Linked DNA regions of Homo sapiens: region 2 is linked to region 1. The links are contacts of gene promoters, found by promoter capture Hi-C in blood cells and fetal thymus (Javierre and others, 2016). All regions are on one chromosome and are shown on one strand. The core of a region is centred on a gene start or on the middle of the fragment in contact, and the rest is flanking DNA. Distances in the headings are between cores, read along the strand shown. Region 1 holds the start of NSUN2 (NOP2/Sun RNA methyltransferase 2). Region 2 holds the start of DAP (death associated protein).

Region 1 (4,031 bases), core at 19-2,518:
GCTCTTTAACAGCAAATGCAGTACCAAGAAATATAATTCAAGTGATAGAGATTAATATCCCAAATAAATATTCGGCATGAAGCACTGTGGTACCTACCAACTCAGTGGCTGTGGAACTTCAACTTTCTGACCGTCCACCTCCAGGTCCTCCAATTCCTTAAAATATTTGTTCTTTAAGCAATGGAGAATCTCTTTTGCGTGGCTATTGAAAAATAAGGAAGTTTCAAACTGATCTAAAAAACTAAGTTAATACATTGTATCTTCTTAAATTTAAGACTGCAAGTGTTTTAAAACTAAAACCAACTTTTGCATGGAGAGTAAACATTCTTTAGTCACTACTTTTACACTGTATGCCTTCAAAATTTAAGCAATCCACACTGTTTGAGCCCTAAGAGCAACACTGCATTCCTTCTCTCCTAAGCATATCCTACCGTTAAGTTTTACTTGCGACTCATTTAGAAAGATGTAACTACAAAGATGGAGGGGGGGCGCGGAGGAGGGGAGAACCAAGGGGTTTTATGCATTCTCTATAAATTCTCTTACGTTCCAAAAGGTAAGACCCTCAGCTTCCCTCCTGGAAGATTCCCCAGGAGCCGAATCTTCCTCAGATCTCATTTTCATTTCGTCTTCTAACCTTGCGCCTGCAATACCTCCGTGACCATTTCATTGGACCCTGTGCTCCCCACCTCAATGCTTCCTGAATCCAAACCGCTGAAACGCCACGGTTCTCTGGCACTGTAACACTTGTCGAAGAAAACACCGTCGCCTTTAACCTCCAGCATCCTGGCCCCAACTCCCAAAAAATCAGGCACTGCCTCCCTACCTTTTGTAACCAGTAATTCTTAAAGTGGCCGGGAGCGGCTCCCTGAGAGCGTCCATGAACTGGCCCCACTCGCCCTCGGGCACGATCTTGAGCTCCTGGTAGTAGTGCTCGAACAGCTTGTTCTCCTTGACGATCTCGGGGTAGCCTCCTTCCCAGCCCTGAGGAAGGAAAGAGACGTCTACCCCGAGGCCCAAGGAGCCGCCCCCTCGCCGCCGCCTCGCAGGCCTCGGGGTCCGGGAAGCCCAGGAGGAGCCCCTGGCCCGCCCGCCGGGTCCCGGCTCCTACCGCCTCGCCGCGCTTTCCACCACCCTCGGCGCCATCCTCCGCGTCCTCCGGCCGCTGCTGTTGCTGGAGCCGCCGACCCCGCGACCGCCGCCCCATAGCCCACGCGGCCGCGCACGCAGCACGCAGAAACCGGCCCGCCACGGCCAGAACTCTAGCCCTACACCTCCCGGGACTTCCGGCCGGAAACCAAGGCCCCACGTGTCCGGGCCTGGTCCTTTCGGGGACCTTTGGGGACCGTCCAGGAATAAGCCCAAAGCGCACAACCCGTCTTTCAGAAAAGCGGCGTGACAGGGAAAACAGCGAACAGCTCTAAGGGGAAAAAAATGCTCCAGGAAGCAGCCACAAAGGCGTCTCCGCGCGAAGCGCCCAGGTTTCCCACGCGGGCTCAAGGAGCTCCGCGGACAGCCTGAAGCCGCGCGTGCGCAGAGCGGCGCGGGGTTACTGCGGCCCCGGCGTGGGTGGGGCGCTTGCAGGTCCCTCCCCGCGCAAGTGCTCGCCCCGCCCCCGGGGCCGCACCCACAGCCCCGGCTACCCCGGAGAAGCCTGACTTGAGAACCCTTTCTGCAGAGTCCCGGCAGTGCGGGACTCCGGTAGCCGCCCCTCCGGTAGCCGCCCCTCCTGCCCCCGCGCCGCCGCCCTATATGTTGCCCGCCGCGGCCTCTGGGGCATGGAGCACGCTGCCCAGCCCTGGCGATGGCAACGGCGACGGGGGTGGCGGAGGAGCGCCTGCTGGCCGCGCTCGCCTACCTGCAGTGCGCCGTGGGCTGCGCGGTCTTCGCGCGCAATCGTCAGACGAACTCAGTGTACGGCCGCCACGCGCTGCCCAGCCACAGGCTCCGAGTGCCGGCGCGGGCCGCCTGGGTGGTGCAGGAGCTGCCCTCGCTGGCCCTGCCGCTCTACCAGTACGCCAGCGAGTCCGCCCCGCGTCTCCGCAGCGCGCCCAACTGCATCCTCCTGGCCATGTTCCTCGTCCACTACGGGCATCGGTAACGTCCCCGGCCCCCGGCCCCCTACCCTACTCCCGGCCCGGCGTCCTCTCCGACCCTCCCCTCACTGCCCGGTGCCCTCTCCCCGAAGCCTCCCCCACCCAGATGCCCTCTCCCTGCCAGATCCCCCGGGGCGTCCCCCATCTGCACGGGTGCCCTTCCCCGAGTCCCCCGGCCCCGGGAGTTTGGAAACCAGAAGGGATTCGTCTGGAAAGGGCGGGAAACAAAGGACTGGAAGGGAGTGATGGAAAAAAACATGATGAAACTGATCTGGAAAGAGCCACTCAGTGGTCCTAGGTTTGGTTTCCTTAGCCGGGCGCGGTGGCGCCTGTCTGTGATCCCAGTTACTCGGGAGTCTGAGATGGAAGAATCGCTTGAACCCGAGAGGCGGAGGTTACAGTGAGCCGAGATCTCGCCACTGCCCTCCAGCCTGGGTGACAGAGCGAGACTCTGTCTCAAAATTAAATATATAAAAATAAAGAGTTAAAAAGTAAAAATGTAAAATAAAAATGAAGACTAGATTTTGTTCCCTTAGATCACGACTGTGGGGGCGGGGGGGAGGGGGTTGGCCTAGAGTCTAATGCTGATGGTCGGTCTTGAGGGCCACTGGTTTCTACTCCTTTCTGCCGGTTCCCCTTTTGGTATCTTTGGTGATGGTGGAGCTGTTTTCTCCCAGCCAAGTGATCAGCTGCAACTGGAAACCTGCTGTCCTAAAACTGCCTAGCAGTTTCTCCTTATAGGCTTGATCACTTTCAGAGACTTTCATGTCCACCTTATGCAAGGGACCCCAGGATTGTGGGGGTGGAAAGCCAGCAACCTTAAACCTTAAACAAACGAAGTCTTAAAGATGACTTCTAAATCTTTCAAGGTTTTTGTTTTTTTGAATATTTGAAAACTGGCTGTGTCTGAAATCTTCAAGCCTTCTAATAAGTTGGGGTTCTCTCCAGGTCGTATCTTTTGGCTTTTACACAGCCAAAGCAAACGACAGGTCGAAAGTTCAAAATTAAATTTTAAACGTTTTCATTCAGGCTCTGGAAAGCTTCACAGTTAAAAAGGATGTCTCTACACCCAAGGAAGTTGAACTCACTGGCTGTGTGACTATGGGCAGTTTACCCAACCTTTCTGATTTGGGGTCCCACCTTAAAACACTCACTTCCCAGAGAGACAGGAAGAACTCAGTGTGTGTTTATAAGCCTCTCTTCTTTCTCCTGGTGTCATGCATTCCAGCGAAGAGAAAGTACACAGCTCCACTACTTGGAACCAGTGTTGTACCCAGCACAGTTTTTGGTACCTGAGTTCCCTGAAAACCAGCACCTTACCCTGTAACTGGTGCAGTCTGTGTCCTCAGTGTGCTTTGATGACTTGCACTTTAAACAAGGGCAAGTCAACATTCATCAGAGGCTTAGTGAGTACTGTGTGCCTGAAACTCTTTACCATTGCTTTATTTTTTTTTTGGAATGGGATCAACCATTGCTACAATTTGAATATTAGTCAGACTTTGCTGTTTGTATATACTTTTCCATAAATATACCAGAAGCTGTATGTCTGTTTCTTTATGGCTAAAAGCAATCTCAGGTCAGAGTATTCGGTGCTATCCTAGTCCCATCAGTCATGACCCTGGATGAGTTACTAAGCTGCCCCGCAGCAAGGTTTCCCCACCTGTAGAATGGGCATGGTGATGGAACCCCCCTGTGGGATCACATGAATTTAGAGCAAAGGCAACTCCCTAAAATGCTTGCATGGTGCTGGCGCATCTGCGTGCTCAGTACACAATACCTAGCACTATTTTGCATTGCTGTGAATGCACATCCAGACATGTACTCTGTGTGTCATTCATGTGCACTGCTGCCAGCCTCATGTGCCAGCAAAACTGTGGTGTTGGAAATCAAGGGAACACTTGACAAAGTTTTGCCTGACATCCCAAGTGGAAGCTTTTT
Region 2 (4,347 bases), core at 1,112-3,611, 4.1 Mb after region 1:
AGGAATTTCTCCCAGGGAGTGAGTATGTACAGTTTATACCTCTGACCTTAAAAATCTCCATATGGGCACTTTGGAAGGCTGAGGTGGGTGGATCACCTGAAGTCAGGAGTTCAAGACCAGCCTGGCCAACATGGCAAAATCCGGTCTCTACTAAAAATACAAAAATCAGCCAGGTGTGGTGGCAGGCACCTGTAAACCCAGCTACTCGGGAGGCTGAGGCAGGAGAATCTCTTGAACCTAGAAGGCGGAGGTTGCAGTGAGCCAAGATCGTGCCACTGCACTCCCAGGTGACAGAGTGAGACTCTGTTTCAAAAAACAAAACAAAAAACTTCTTTATGGGTGTGTCTCTGTATGCAATTTAATTACTGTACTTTGGTTCTGTATCATTCCAACAGATACGCTTTAATGTAACCCATGTCCTGGGGAGTGGAGGGCCAGAGCAGGTGGCTGCTGCAGTTCCTGGAGGCAGCCCTGCCCGGGGTGGAAATCAAGGCGCTCCTCCCCACAGTGGACAGGGACCCGCTGTGGTGGAATGGAAGTCAGTTATCCTTAAAAGAAATCCCATCAAAAAAAAAACTCCCTTTGAAGTACTTTTTTTCTTAAAACCAATGCAACACAAATTCCCCCAAAACCATTTTCCATCACAGTGGAATGATTTTCTAAAACCCCATGCCTCTTAAGTTCTCTGGCATCAGTTAGACATTTTTCTTTCCCAGTGCCAGTTAGTTTTGTTGTAGAGAGCCTCCGTCACCACTGAAAAATATTGCCTACTCTGGACTGCAACATATTTAAAGAACGGCTCCTATTCATTGTGCTGGTGCAGAGAATTCCCGCCCTATAGCGGAGGACAGCAGAGAAGGATAATGGGAATCTTTTTTTTTTTTTTTTTTTTTTTTGAGATGGAGTCTCGCTCGCTTTGTCGCCAAGGCTGGAGTGCTTTGGCTCAATCTTGGCTCACTACAACTTCTGCCTCCCGGGTTCAAGCCATTCTCCTGCCTCGGCCTCCTGAATAGCTGGGATTACAGGCGCCCGCCACCATGCCCAGCTAATTTTTCTACTTTTAGTAGAGATGGGGTTTCACCATGTTATCCAGGCTAGTCTTGAACTCCTGACCTCAAGTGATCCACCCTCCTTGGCCTCCCAAACTGCTGGGGTTACAGGCATGAGCCACCGCGCCTGGCCAGGAATCTTTATTGTCAAGAAAATGGCGCAAATGTGCCACCAAAAGAAGCCATGTTTCTCAAAGACTTCTGTTCCTACAAGACTGAGTTTATGACACTAAGGCGTGCTATTAAGACCTAAAAGAACCTCACGCATCCATACATTGAAGTGACTTGGCTTCTGAGACCCAAGGCCTTTGATCTTCTCACCAGTGTCCCTCCATATGGGCCGACTGCCACTGGAAAGGAGAGTAGAAACGGAAACAGACCCGTCTGGACAGAATCCAAAGTGCAAACAGGAACTGTGCCCAGAGAGAGGAGGAGGTGGCAGAAGCATGAAGGCTGCTTAGATCCCTATGTTCTAAGAAAGACCGCTCTTTCCTGGCTTTAACTTCCTTGGCTCAGAAGTTTAGGATTTGCTCAAAATCAGAAAAAGCAACTTTGGGGGAAAAAAAAAATCTGGATGTGGAAGAAACTGGCGGTGAAAGTCATATTGAGTGATTAATGATAAAAATTATTTCCGCTCCTTGGTTCTTGAGTCGGTATGAAACGCTGGCAGCCTCTAATTAATCATCACCATGATATTAACACCACTGACTTTTCATTGCTTCTGCTACTTTCTTTCTAGACATCTGTATCCTCTAAGTAAATATTATCCGCCAAAACTTTGTTATAAGTTGTGCAACTGGGTTCGCCCAAGGCACCGGAGCCTGCGCGCAATCGCACAGGTACGCGGCCGCCCGCGGTCCTCAGGAAGAAACGCTTCGCCGCCGCCGGCAAGCGGGGCCGAAGCTCCGGCGGGCTCCTCCCGGGCCTGGGCGCCCGACCTCTCCGCGGCCCGCGCCCCTCGGGCGGGCATCAAGGCCCGGAACCCGTCTCAGCGCTCGCCGGGGCCCTCCCCGCGGAGCCCCCGCCCGGCGCCCCCGGGTTCGAGCCCGCCCCCGGCACCCGCGCGTGGAGAGAGAGGAAAAGAGTCAGTACCGGCGGGCGGGTGTCCAGCTTTAGTCTCTAGTTTCCCTTCGGGAGGCGAAGACATGACGCGGCGGGGCTTCCGCGGGGCCGAGGCGGCGGCGCGGTTCTCGGGCCGGGCGGGCGTGCGCGAGTGAGCTCAGGTGTGAGCGCCGGGGAGCGAGCGGGCGGGAGAACGACGCGCGCGCGTGGGGCGCCGGGGCCGCGCGAGCCGGGTGAGTGCCACTGCCGTTAAGGGGGCGCGGCCGCCGCGCGCCGACGTGGCGCAGCCGAGCCCACCGACGGCATGCGCACTGACGTCACCGCGGCCCGCCCGCCCTGCTGGGCCGCGAGCCAAGCATACGGTGCGTGCGCAGCCGGCCGCGCCACGTCGGATGCTGTGGCCGGGGGCGGGGGCGGGGGCGGGGGCGGGGGCGGAGGAGGGAGGGGAGAGAAGGGGTGAAGAAGTGAGAGGGAGAAGGAAGGAGAGGGAGGCGGGGTCCCCGACTGGCTGCGGGGACTGGAGTTGCGGAAAGTTAAGTAGGGCCCAGCTGAGGATGGCTCCTGCAGCGAACGCGCTCAGCCGGGCTCCTGGCTACGCGGCGACGGCTGGGTGACTGCGCCCCACAGTGCGGGCCAGGGCCGGGGCGTCCCGGCAGGGAGGCGACCGTCCCCTGAGGCCCTCAGCCCCTGCCGCGGCAGCGCCTAATGAAGCGCGGAAAGGAGAGCCCAGATGGCAGCGACGGGGGCCGAGAGAGCAGGAATTTGTTAAAAGACGATGCGAGGGGAGAGCCTGCTTTCCGAGTGAGGGCCAGCGCTGGGGAGCAGAGACGGTGGCTTCTGTCCCTGCCCTCCTCGTTATGAACCAAAAATAAAATTCTAAGCCCTGCAGCCAACGGATGGACCCTCCCCTCCGCCTGTGGCCTTCTAAGTTATCTTGAAAAACTAGTTCAGGCCTTGATGGGAAGCGGAAGTCAAACATGGCCTCACAAACATCCGCACGGAGACCCTAAGACTAATAGAGGACTCTGATAAGAAACATTTGCAGTGTATTCCCGGCTTCATCTGCATGATAACACCTTGGTCTCCACAACTCCTTCATGCAACCCGGACATTCCCTTCTACTGAGTCCAGGTCTTTAGATGATAACTCTCAACCAGTTGCCAATCAGAAAACCTTTAAATGTACCTATGACCCGGACGCCTCCACTTCACATTTTACCTCCTAAAGAGCCAACCTACATCTTACGTATTGATTGATGTCTCATGTCTCCCTCAAATGTATAAAACCAAGATGTTTCCTGGCCACCCTGGGCACATGTCATCAGAACCTCCTGAGGTTGTGTCAATGCACGTCCTTAACCTTGGCAAAATAAACTTCCTAAATTGAGACCACTCTCAGAAACTTTTGGTTTTCACCATCATCTTCCTGTTGCCGTGGCTGACCCCTGGCTCTCGTGCCTTGGATCGTGTTCTTCCCGCCTGCCCCAGTGTTTTGCAACTGCTGTTAACTTCCGCAATGCCTTGCTGGATTCGCATTCAGACAGGCCTAATCTCTTTAGCGAAGGAAACACCACCCCTCGCTTGGCTGTACTTTTCCCTTTGACAACAAAACTGTTCAGGGAGGCTGAGCTCCTCATCTCTTGTCACTCCCTCCAGTCCAGTTTGTCTGGTTTTCATCAAGTTCTGCTGCACTGCCCTCAACCATGGGAGGTCCTTTTGTGGAAGTCACTTATAACCTATGTGCTGCCAGATCCAATGGTCATTTTCTACTTTCATTCTATTTGAGCTCTTAGCAGCACTTGATGCAGCTGGCCGTCCCCCTCCTCCTTTGCTCCGGAGGTGCCACATCACTGCCTTACCCTCCAGTTCTCTGGCCACCCTGGCTGCTCACTCTGTCAGCTTGGCAGTTCGCCCTCTTCTAGATTTATAAACATTTGAGTATCGCAAGGCTCAGCATTGGCCTTCTTCTCTATCTAGACTTCCCATAGATAGTCACATGCAGCCTGTGGACGACTATCATGCAGATGCTTACAGGTGCCAAATCTGCAACCTCATTTCTCTATTTCTGCTCCTCCCCTGAACTCCAGACTCACCACCACCACCACCTGCAGACGCTTATGGGTGCCACATCTGCAACTTAATTTCTCTCTTTCTGCCCCTCCACTGAACTCCAAACTCACCACCGCCACCTTGGCTTCTCTATTTGTTGTCTAACTCAGTGCTGCGCAACTCTGTGC

What was found. Contacts are between HindIII fragments. The CHiCAGO score rates a contact against its expected background, and 5 or more counts as called.
Region 2: a contact is called between the fragment with the promoter of DAP here and the fragment with the promoter of NSUN2 in region 1, in 1 of 17 cell types (total CD4 T cells). The highest score is 8.6, in total CD4 T cells.

What each region holds. Positions count from the first base shown.
Region 1 is chr5:6,631,776-6,635,806 of GRCh38, forward strand. It overlaps NSUN2 (NOP2/Sun RNA methyltransferase 2), which reads right to left and starts at 1,269. Exons shown (of 19, transcript NM_017755.6): 1 at 1,109-1,269; 2 at 824-981; 3 at 98-202. The coding sequence starts at 1,204. It overlaps SRD5A1 (steroid 5 alpha-reductase 1), which reads left to right and starts at 1,665. Exons shown (of 5, transcript NM_001047.4): 1 at 1,665-2,094. The coding sequence starts at 1,802. RefSeq lists enhancers at 1,365-1,876, 1,877-2,388 and a silencer at 1,512-1,901. The HindIII fragment of the contact is 4,632 bases long and covers 1-3,131 here.
Region 2 is chr5:10,758,873-10,763,219 of GRCh38, forward strand. It overlaps DAP (death associated protein), which reads right to left and starts at 2,362. Exons shown (of 4, transcript NM_004394.3): 1 at 2,142-2,362. The coding sequence starts at 2,196. It overlaps DAP-DT (DAP divergent transcript), which reads left to right and starts at 2,164. Exons shown (of 3, transcript NR_187555.1): 1 at 2,164-2,344. RefSeq lists silencers at 1,918-2,347, 2,428-2,897 and an enhancer at 2,420-3,265. The HindIII fragment of the contact is 9,246 bases long and covers 1-4,347 here.